Linked DNA regions of Homo sapiens: region 1 is linked to region 2. Evidence: promoter capture Hi-C in human tissues and cell types (Jung and others, 2019). All regions are on one chromosome and are shown on one strand. Each heading gives the region's core, a stretch centred on a gene start or on the middle of the fragment in contact. The rest is flanking DNA. Distances are from core to core; before and after follow the strand shown.

What was found. The method cuts DNA at HindIII sites, captures the fragments that hold promoters and counts their contacts. A contact is called where the count stands out against the background at its distance.
Region 1: a fragment that was not itself captured here is called in contact with the fragment with the promoter of SLCO4C1 in region 2 in 1 of the 25 tissues and cell types used here (dorsolateral prefrontal cortex).

What each region holds. Positions count from the first base shown.
Region 1 is chr5:101,939,424-101,944,740 of GRCh38, forward strand. No RefSeq gene overlaps it. Among named protein-coding and RNA genes, the nearest start is that of SLCO4C1, 350 kb to the right of the region's middle. The HindIII fragment of the contact is 5,198 bases long and covers 1-5,026 here.
Region 2 is chr5:102,293,550-102,299,017 of GRCh38, forward strand. It overlaps SLCO4C1 (solute carrier organic anion transporter family member 4C1), which reads right to left and starts at 2,735. Exons shown (of 13, transcript NM_180991.5): 1 at 2,359-2,735. The coding sequence starts at 2,713. RefSeq lists an enhancer at 2,501-2,700. The HindIII fragment of the contact is 20,431 bases long and covers 2,136-5,468 here.

The sequences.
Region 1 (5,317 bases), core at 1,178-3,677, 350 kb before region 2:
TGTTGTATTTGATTTTCTGTCTCTACGTTAGTTTGCTAAGGATAATAGCCTCTAGCTCCATTCATGTTCCCAAAAAAGACATGTATTAAGTTTTTTTATGTGCTGCTGGATTCAATTTGCTAGTATTTTGTTGAGGACCTTTATGTGTATGTTTGTGAGGGATATTGGTCTGAAGTTTCCTTTTTTCGTTGTGTCTTTGTCAGATTTTGATATCAGGCTGATGGTGGCTTCATAGAATGTGTTAGGGAGGAGCCCCTCCTCCTCAATTTTTTGGAATAGTTTTAATATTGTTGGTATATTGGCATTTCTTTGTGTGTCTGGTAGAATTTGGCTGTGAATTTATCTGGTCGGGGCTTTTTTTTTTGAGGGGGTGCTCCTTATTACTGTTTCAATTTCAGAAGTTGATATTGGTCTATTCAGGGTTTCAATCTGTACCTCATTTAATCTTGGAAGATAGTGTACTTCCAGGAATTTGTCCATTTCCTCTAGATTTTCTAATTTGTGTGCATACAGTTGTTCATAGTAGTCTCTGATATCTTTTGTATGTTGTAATATCACCTTTGTCATTTCTGATTGTCCTTATTTCGATCTTCTCTTTCTGTTTTATTTTGGTTAGTTTAGCTAGGGGCCCATCAGTCTTATTTATTTTTTTCAAAAAAACCATCTGCATTTCATTGATCTTTTGTATGGAATTTGCATTTCAATTTCAACAAGTTATTCTCTAATTTTAGTTATCTATTTTCTTCTGCTAGTTTTGGGTTTGGTTTGTTATTTTTTATTCCAGTTCCTTTAGGTGTAACAATAGATTGTTAACTTGAGACTTTCTAATTTCTTGATGAAGGAGTTACGAGCTATAAACTTTCCTTGTAACACTGCTTTTGCTGCATCCCAGAGATTTTGGTAAGTTGTGTACCTATTTACATTAATTTCAAGTTTTAAAAAATGTTTGCCTTAATTATGTTTACCCAGGAGTTATTCAGGAGTAAGTTGTTTAATTTCCATGTATTTGTATCATTTTGAGAGATACTCTTGGTATTGATTTCTATTTTTTATTGCACTGTGGTCCAAGAGTGTGTTTGGTTTGGTATGATTTTAATTTTTTTGGATTTATCAAGGCTTGCTTCACCACCAAGCATGTGGTTGATCTTAGAATATGTTCCATGTGCAGATGAGAGGAATGTATATTCTGTAGTTGTAGGGTAAAGTATTCTGTAGGTGTCATTAGGTACAGTTGGTCAAGTGTCAAGTTGAAGTCCAGAGTTTCTTTGTGAGTTTTTTGCCTCCGAGATCTGTCTAACACTGTCAGTGGGGTGTTAATGTCTCCCACTATTATTCTGTGATTGTCTAAGTCTTTTTGTTGGCCAGGAACCCATTTTATGAATCTGGGTGCTCCAATGTTGGGGGTGTATATATTTAGAATAGTTAAGGCTTCTTGTTGGATTGTACCCTTTATCGTTATGTAATGCCCTTCATTGTCCTTCTTAATTTTGATTGGTTTAAAGTTTGTTTTATCTGATACAGGAATAGACTCCTGCTCTTTTTGGTTTTCCATTTGCATGCTACATATTAGTCCACTCTTTTATTTAGCCCTTGGATATCATTATATGCGAGGTGGGTCTCTTAGAGACAACAGATGTTTGCGTCTTGTCTTTGTATCCAGTCTGACACTGTGTCTTTTAAGTTAGACATTTAGACTATTTATACTCAAGGTTAGCATTGATATGTGTGATTTTTATCCTGTCATAGTGTTGCTAGCTGGTTGTTATGTAGACTTGATGCGTAGTTGCATTTTATAGTGCCTGTGGGCCGTATGCTTAGATGTGCTTTTGTGATAGCAAGTGTCCTTCTTTAGAATCCATATTTAACAGTCCCTTAAAAACTTCTTGTAAGACTGGTCTAGTTGAAACATATTCCCGCAATATTTGCCTGTCTGAAAAGGATTTTATTTCTCCCTCACTTATGAAACTTAGTAAGGCAGAATATTAAATTCTTGGTTGGGTTTTCTTTTCTTAAAGGACACCGAAAATAGGCCCTCAATGTCTTCTGGCTGATAAAAGTTTCTGCTGAGAGGTCTTCTGCTAGCCTGATGGGGTTCCTTCTTTAGGTTACCTGAACCTTCCTCTCTAGCTACTTTTAAGATATTTTCTTTTTCACTGGCCTTAGTGAATCTGATGACTATGTGTCTTGGGGATGGTTGCCTTGTATAGTATCTGGCTGGAGTTCTCTGTATTTCTTAGATTTTCATGTCAACCTCTCTAGCAAGATTAAGGAAATTGCTGTGGAATATATCCTCAAATATAATGCTCAAGTTGCTTATTCTCCCTTCTTCTCTCTCAGGAATGCCACTGAGTCACAGGTTTGTCTCTTTACATGATCCTGTATTTCTCAGAGGTTTTGCTCATTTTTCTTAATTCTTCTGTCTCTATTTTTGTCTGATTTAGTTGATTTGAAGCATTAGCCTGAAGACTCTTTCCTCAGCTTGGCTATGCTGCAGTTAATACTTTCAAATGTATTATGAAATTATCATACTGAATTTTTCAGCTCAAGAAGCTCAGTTTGGATTTTTCTTAAAATGGGAGTTTCATCTTTCAGCTCTTGAATAGTTTTACTGTATTGTTTCACTATGTTAGATTGTTTCAAGTTTCTTCTTGATTTCAATGAGCTTCCTTGCCATCCAGATTCAGAGTTCCATGTCTGTTATTTCAGACAATTCAGACAAGTTAAGAACCATCACTGGGGAGCTAGTGGGCTCATTTGGAGGTAAGGGAACACTCTGGCTTTTTGAATTGCCAGAGTTATTTCACTGATCCTTTCCCACCTGGCAGGGCTGGTATTTCCTTAGTTGTGGTGTAAACTGAGAATTGCCTATTGCCTTCATTTTTGGAATTTCAGAAGACTAATGCTTTGTACAGATTCTTTGTTGTAGCGTTCTTGCTGTTTCCAATGAGAGAGAATTTTTGATGTAGTTTGGGCTGCGATCCAATAGATGGCACTTGAGAGCCATAGGCAGTTCCTAGCCACACAGTTCCTTTGTATATCTTCACATTTGCAGTTGTGTTCTGCAGTGCGATGGGGATAGAGGTGACACCCTCACCAGATCTGCTCAAAGGCCCCCGGGGAGCTACCCCTGATCACCAGCAATCTTCTCATGATTTTCTTTCCTGTTGCTGTTAGGTCTTTCAGGCCACAGGGCTCCCTTGGGGAGAAGTCCCTTAGAGAATCAGGCCACACCCCAACCGAGTGGAAGGAGGCACAGCCAGGTCCCACATCAGCCCATCAAACTGTGCAACCCAGCTCTTCCAGTTTTCTGAGAGTGTGACTCCTGCCCCTTTCAAATGCAGAGCACAGCTCGCAGCTCAGTACTTCTGAGCCACAGGCCATAGCTCTAAGGTACTAGGACCCTCTCACAGCTCCCTCCTCCGGTCGCTTGGAGTTGGGTTTTGGGTGCAGCCTGACATCTAAAGGACATCTACGTTGCTGGAAAGTATGTAGGTGGAGCAAAGCAACTGAGCTGGGAAGCAGAGGCTGCATTATATACACACTTGTATGGAGTAGCCAGGCAGTGGCCCTAGGAGAGGCTGGCGGATAGGTGGGCCTGCAGGAAAGATAAGTCCCAGTCCCAGGGAGAAACTGGCCTGGCTTTCCCCATAGCCATAAGCTGGGGCCACAGCCTCTCAAAGGTAGATGGGCAGCCCTAGGGGATGGGTGCTTACAGCTGAGCTTTGCCAGAGCTGATCCACTCAAAGGTCCCCAGCTTTGTGCTTGCTGCAGCTCCATCTCCATCTAATCTCCAGGGAGAATCCCCTGCCGGCTCACACATTCATGGGCTGTGGGGTCACTGCAGCTAGGATTCCAAAGGTTTGCAGCAAGAGTGAACAGTCCCCCAGTCCCTTCACTCATCCATACCCAGGCATCTTTTGGAGCAGTGAACCAGACGTAGCATTTAGATAACCACATAGGGTTCCTAGTCTCCTCTCTCATCAGCATCAGTGACTGTGTCTTCACCATCCACATTTGGCATTTTCTCCCCAAAGGTCTGTACAAATTATGTTGGTATGGCCAAAATCCTGGTTTCTCTCTGTGAGAGTGGCGCTTCCCAGTTGCATCTAGTTACTTATCTTAAACACATAACCACATTTTCTTTATCCAGTTGACCATTGATGTACACTTGGGTTAATTCCATGTCTTTACTATTATGAATAGTACTGAGATAAACATATAAGTAAAGGTATCTTTTTTATGGAAAATTTATTTCCTTTGGGGTATGTAATCAGTAATAGGGTTGTTCAGTCAAATGATAATTCTATTTTTAGCTCTTCGAGAAATCTTCTGATATAGTTTGGATATGTATCCTCTCCAAATCTCATGTTGAAACGTGATCCTCAATTTTGGAGGTGGGGCCTACTGAGAGATATTTGGGTAATGAGGTTGGATCCCTCAGGAACAGCTTGGAGCCCTCCTGGAGGTAATGAGTGAGTTCTTGCTGAGTTCAAAGGAGATCTGGTTGTTTAAAAGAGTGTAACACTTCCCCATCAATCTTGCTTCCTCCTTTGCCATGTAACATGCTGACTCATTTCCCCTTCCCCTTATGCTATGATTGTAAGCTCCCTGAGGCAGATGCCAGCACCAAGCTTCCTTTACAGTCTACAGAACCATGAGCCAAAATAAAACTCTTTTCTTTACAAATTGCCTAGTCTCAGGTATTCTTTTATAGCAGGGGTCCCCAACCCCTGGGCCATAGACCAGTACAGATTTGTGGCCTGTTAGGGACCCTGCCACAGAGCAGGAGGTGAGTAACCAGCAAGCATTACCCCTGAGCTCCGCCTCCTGTCAGATCAGGGGCAGCCTTAGATTCTCATAGGACTGTGAACTCTACTGTGAGCTACACATGCAAAGTATCTAGGTTATGTTCTTTATGACAGTCTAACTAATGCCTGATGATCTGAGGTGGAACAGTTTCATCCCAAAACTATCTCCGCAACTCTGCCCTGTTCATGGAAAAATTGTGCCAAAAAGGTTAGGGACCACTGCTTTATAGCATCTCCAAATGGCTTCACACAGAGGCTGAAATAGTTTACATTCCTATCAACAGTGTATAAAGTGTATATTCCCTTTTCCCTGCAACCTCGCCTATGTATGTTATTTTTTGATGATGTTATTTTTTGATGGTTATATTTTTAATAATAGCCATTCTGACTGGTGTGAGACGTTATCTTATTGTGGTTTTGATGTTTATCTCTCTAATGATTAGAGATGTCAAGCATTTTTTCATCTTTTTTTGGCCACATGTATGTCTTCTTTTAAGAATTGTCTGTTC
Region 2 (5,468 bases), core at 1,485-3,984:
TTTGAGAAATGCTGGGTTAAATAAACTCATTCGAGAAATTTTGTTTTTCTTTCCAATTAAATGTATATTTAAATATACCATGGAAATGATCTTAAGGATCATGTTTGAGAAACATGGCAATAAAGTTTTCAGGCATTCAAACTTAAACTGAAACGTAAACTAGTAATTTATTGGGTCACACTTTTTATTATTATACTTTTTTTTGAGACCTTGCCTCGCTCTGTCACCAGGCTGGAGTGCAGTGGCGCCATCTCGGCTCACTGCAACCTCCACCTCCCGGGTTCCAGCCATTCTCGTGCCTCAGCCTCCTGAATAGCTGGGACTACAGGCGTGTGCCACCGCACCCGGCTAATTTTTGTGGTGTTTTGTTTTGTTTTGAGACAGAGTTTCCCTCTGTTGCCTAGGCCGGAGTGCAATGACACGATCTCGGTCCACTTCAAACTCCGCCTCCTGGGTTCAAGTGTTTTTCCCACCTCAGCCCTCCAAGTAGCTGGGATTGCAGGCATGCGCCACAATGCCCAACTAGTTTTTGTATTTTTGGTAGAGACGGGGTTTCACCGTGTTGGCCAGGCTGGTCTCGAACTCCTGACCTCAGTTGATCTGCCTGCCTCAGCCTCCCAAAGTGCTGCAATTACAGGCGTGAGCCACGGCGCCCGGCCATAATTTTTTGTATTTTTAGTAGAGACGGGTTTCACCATGTTGGCCAGGCTGGTATCCAAGTTCTGACCTCAACTGATCCGCCCGCCTCGGCCTCCCAAAGTGCTGGGATTACAGGCGTGAGCCACCATGCCCAGCCTATTGGGTCACTATTATCTCAGATTAAGCTTCTTAAATTGGGGACCTCTGGGTAGATGCTGCTCCAGACTAAACCTGACAAATTTTCTAGGAGTGACAATTACATTTGATAACAATTTTAGGCAATATTTTATATTAAATATAAAATGTTATATTTTGGAATAATATAGAAATTTCAGAGGAATTTTAAGATAATACACAAGATAAGACATTTTTTACTTGTGTCCAACTTTTTTATCTTCGCATTCCTTTGACACTGAGATGCTTCACAATTACCAATTTTGTAAAACTATGATCAAGACATTAATGGAGGGGAACTTTGGTAGGGACAAGAAAAGTGGACAGGGAAATAATTCTTCAACACAAATCTACCTTCAGTAGAAGAGCTGCAGCGGACTTGCAATCAATAAATGGTTACTTAGCATCTAATGCGCAAAGCAAGGGGCCCTGGGTTCCTTGAAGAGGAAGAATAAGAACAAAAAGTATACTTAGGCTTTGACTTAGTTTTCTATTAACTTAAAAAATGAGCTGTTTCCAACCCTCTAAAATCTATATTTCTAAGGTTGTATTTCTTCCAATTAATCCTTGACTGATTATACAGAAAATATTCTCGGACTATGACTCAAGTGACCAAAAAATATCTACATTCCAATTCAGCTAAGCTTCGGCATGTCCTTCTTGACTCCTCTCCACCTCTTCTCCACCCTTCCTCAAAGTCAACTCAGGTTAACTTCCTATTTTCCTTCAACCTCTGTATTGAACACACCAGAAGCAGCTTTAACCTTCCCTGTGCCTTCTTTCAAGGGAGCTGTTCTCCCTCCAGGATATCACTCCTCCAAACTGAGCTTAGATTGCAAGCCCCTGAGGGTATAAATCTGAACTGAATCTGTAACTCCCAAGAGAACCTAAAAGAGATCCTAGAACAAAACAGATGCTGGATAACTAATGTAACACAATGAAGATTAAGGCTCAACAACGTCGGGAGCCTTTGCTAATTTACTCACTGGGCTCCTCTGGTGACCACATACTCTCAAACTAAATACACTCACAAAACATGAATGTCTGTATCTAATTTATACGATAGATTTTTCATAGCTTTCTTCCTTGTAAGGCATCCCACTCCCACCTGCAAACGTATTACTCCTTCCCCTGAGGCAATGAAACAAATGTAAAAGTAAAATACCTTTAAAGAGTGCCTAGGTAAATTTTTGTCTTTATAATGTAAAATAAACTCCCCAGGGTATACCTTTCCCAAAGGAAGGTTCTTGTAATCTTCCCTGTAAGTCTTGAATCCGCTAAACTGAGGTAAAACACAAAAGAGAAAAAGGCTTGTATTGCAAGTTTGAACTGTAGTGATAAAGGAGAAGCTGAACTTTGGAAGGCTGGCTGGGGGCCGGTAGGTTGACCTTGGTGAGAGCGCAAGCAAGTTCCAAACCCGGGGCCACCTTGCAGGGCGCGTCCACCGTCCCACGGACCCCGCGCACCTGCCCTCTCCCCCGGCTGGCTCGCCGTGCCCACCTCGCTCTCCACTGGCCCGAGCCTCAAGCGGGCGCTGGACTTTACCTTGCGTGACGGCCAAGAGGCAGTAGTGAAGCAGAAAGCCTCCAGGTGTGTTGCAGCGCTGGAGACATTGAGGATGGAAGTTCCTCCAGCCGTAAGACCCCTCCTCAAACTCGGACAGCGACAGTGACCGGAGCTTCTCTTCGGAGACATTGGGAGGGGCTGAAGGCAGAGATGGCTCTGGTGACTTCTGGGGCTCCTGGGGCTTCTGAAGCTCCTGTGGCTGAGAATTCTCTCTTTGGGGGTCAGAGGACAAGGCAGAGACTTCGATTTGGGAGGGCGACGCAGACAAGCGGCGCAGGATGTCTGGGCTGGAGGGGACAAAAGCCAAGTTCTCAATACCTTTGGCGCTCTTCATGTCTGGATGGGTTCTCCCGACTCCGGTGCTTCAGAGCAGCAGAGCCAGGTCCCTCTCTGGCTCCTCCCACAGGCAGGTGACAGCGCCCCCGTGCGGGAAGCTTCCCGCCTCCTGGCCCTCCAGCCTCCAGCGCACTCTCCGCCACCGCCTGAACCTTCCTACTCCAGCTCGCAGCTGTCTGGAGCGCAGAGCGCTGAGCGGGGGCGTTAGCGCCCCAGCCTGTGGCTTTGGCGCTCAGCTGTGCCTCACCCGTCGCCTCAAGGACCAACCGGAAGGCGCGGCGTGGGCGTGCCACCCGGCGGCGGCCGAGTAGAGGGGGCGAGAGTTCTCACCCCACAGCCTTCGACCGGAGTCCGCCTCCGCCCAAGCCCCTGCGGTTCTGACCTGAGCCTTCAGCCCGCAGCGCGCCTCCCTTGAGCCCAAGCACTGGGAACACACAGAGACTGTGGGAGTCTCTGGCCATAAGCTCCCCTTGGGTGCTGACATGAAACCTGTAAACAGTTGCATCAGGAGATTGTTCAGGAAACTATCTTGCGTTTTCTTCCTTTGCTGCTTACCAAAGCAGTCTAGGCTTGGACTCCAAGAATCAAGACGTCAGAGGTATACTTTGGTTCATGAGCATCTTGATAAGACTCTTGCCTGTCATCCTGTTACTGGTAGAAGGTGTCCAGGTTCTTGGCATCTTGAAGAAAGAATTGAAGAAAACGCACAAACAAAGCAAGGAAGGAATGAAGGGGTTTATTGAAAATGAAAGTACACTCCACAGTGTGGGAACGGGCGAGCATAGGGGCTCAAAGGCCCGGTTACAGAATTTTGGGGAGTTTAAATACCCCCTAGAGGATTCCATTGGTTACTTTGGGTATGCCCTATGTAAAGGGAGAAGATGAAGTAAAGTTACAAAGTCATTTATGGCCTACGCCCTATGGAGAGGATATTTCCTGTTACAGCTGAAGTGTGAATAGGCCTTATGTTTCCTGCCTCCAGACCCTATTTTCCTGCCTCAGTCCTCCTTAGAAAAAGAAATCCACCCCACCCCACCCCCATCACCACCAGGATGAACATCACAGCATAACCACTGCTTTGCTTTTCCTTCTCCGAAACTGAAGGACCAGAAATTGTCTCTCTGCTGTATATTGCATATGTAAGATATACAGTGATGACAATCATGTAAATAATTTCTACCGGGCCAGGCGCGGTGGCTCACGCCTGTAATCCTAGCACTTTGGGAGGCTGAGGCGGGTGGATTACCTGAGGTCAGGAGTTCAAGATTAGCCTGGCCAACATGGTGAAACACTGTCTTTACTAAAAATACAAAAATTAGCCAGGTGTGGTGGTGCAGGCCTGTAATCCCAGCTACTTGGGAGGCTGAGGCAGGAGAATCATTTGAACTCGGAAGGTGGAGGGTACAGTGAACCGAGATTGTGCCACTTCAATCCAGTCTGGGTGAAAGAGTGAAACTCTGTCTCTTAATAATAATAATAATAATAATAATACATGTCTAACTGTGGAATAAATAAGAAAAACACTTCGAAGAGCTTAACACCATTGTGTCATGGTAGGTACAATTTAGTCATTCATTCTTTCACTTAACACAGACACAAAAAATTCTTGTGTCCTAGGTGCCAAACATTGTTCTAAGTTCTGGGGGTACACAAGTGAACAAAGACTGGCAAATACCCCTACCCTTATGGTGCTTATGTTTTAATAGGAAACAGACAGTAATAATACATAGTACATGGCACATAATATGATAAATACTATTTTGTGAAACTTTTGTTTCAATTATATATGCTGTGTTTACTGGGTTGAGAGACAGATATAAAATATGTATCTTACTTTGGACAGAGGTACATTCTGTTACCTGTTTCCTCACAATCGAGAAAACTCTAGACTGGCCAGCCGGGCGCAGAGGTGCAGGCCTGTAATCCCAGTACTTTGGGAGGCCAAGGTGGGTGCCTTGAGTCCAGGAGTTTGAGACCAGCCTGGGCAACACGACAAAACCCTGTCTCTACCAAAAATGCAAAACTTAGCCTGGCATGGTGGTGCACGCCTGTAGTTCCAGATACTTGGGAGGCTGAGGTGGGAGGGTCGCTTACAACCTGGGAGGGTGAGGTTGCAATGAGTACTCCAGCTGTGCCATAGAGCCAGACCTTGTCTCAAAAAAATAAGAATTAAAAATAAAAATAAATTCTAGATTGGCCTAAAACATGGGGAAAGAGTAGAAGTAGGAGCTAACATTTAAAATGTCTGCTATATGCCCCATTATTAAAATCTTTACAAAAGCAGCTGCACTGTTATATATAGTTTACATATTGAGGAAACCATATCCCATAAAGAATTAGTAACTGTCCCAAAGTCACATAGCTAATAAGTGAACTGCCACTTAAGGATCTGAACTCGGCTCTCTTAGCCAGAAGTCTTCCCTAAACTTTGCATTTTCTGTCTTTTAATAACTACAGTGTATCTCCATCAGGTTAAATTATTGCATAGCAATTTTAAGAGATCAAAATTCAAAATTCTGTGATATTCGTGAGGCTTAGAAGATTAATGCTGCTCTGAAAACCTAGATTTTGGAGGTATTCAAATTAAGCATGGTATGTAATCTTCCTGGGCTTGCTTTCTACAAAAATGGACTCAAAGTAGGTAACTATTTTGATCACCATTTTATCTATGGAATACGAAGTAATTTACACAACCAGAAAATTTTGTTTTGATGGGATGTGATTACATACAATCATGGCTTAAGACTATTTTG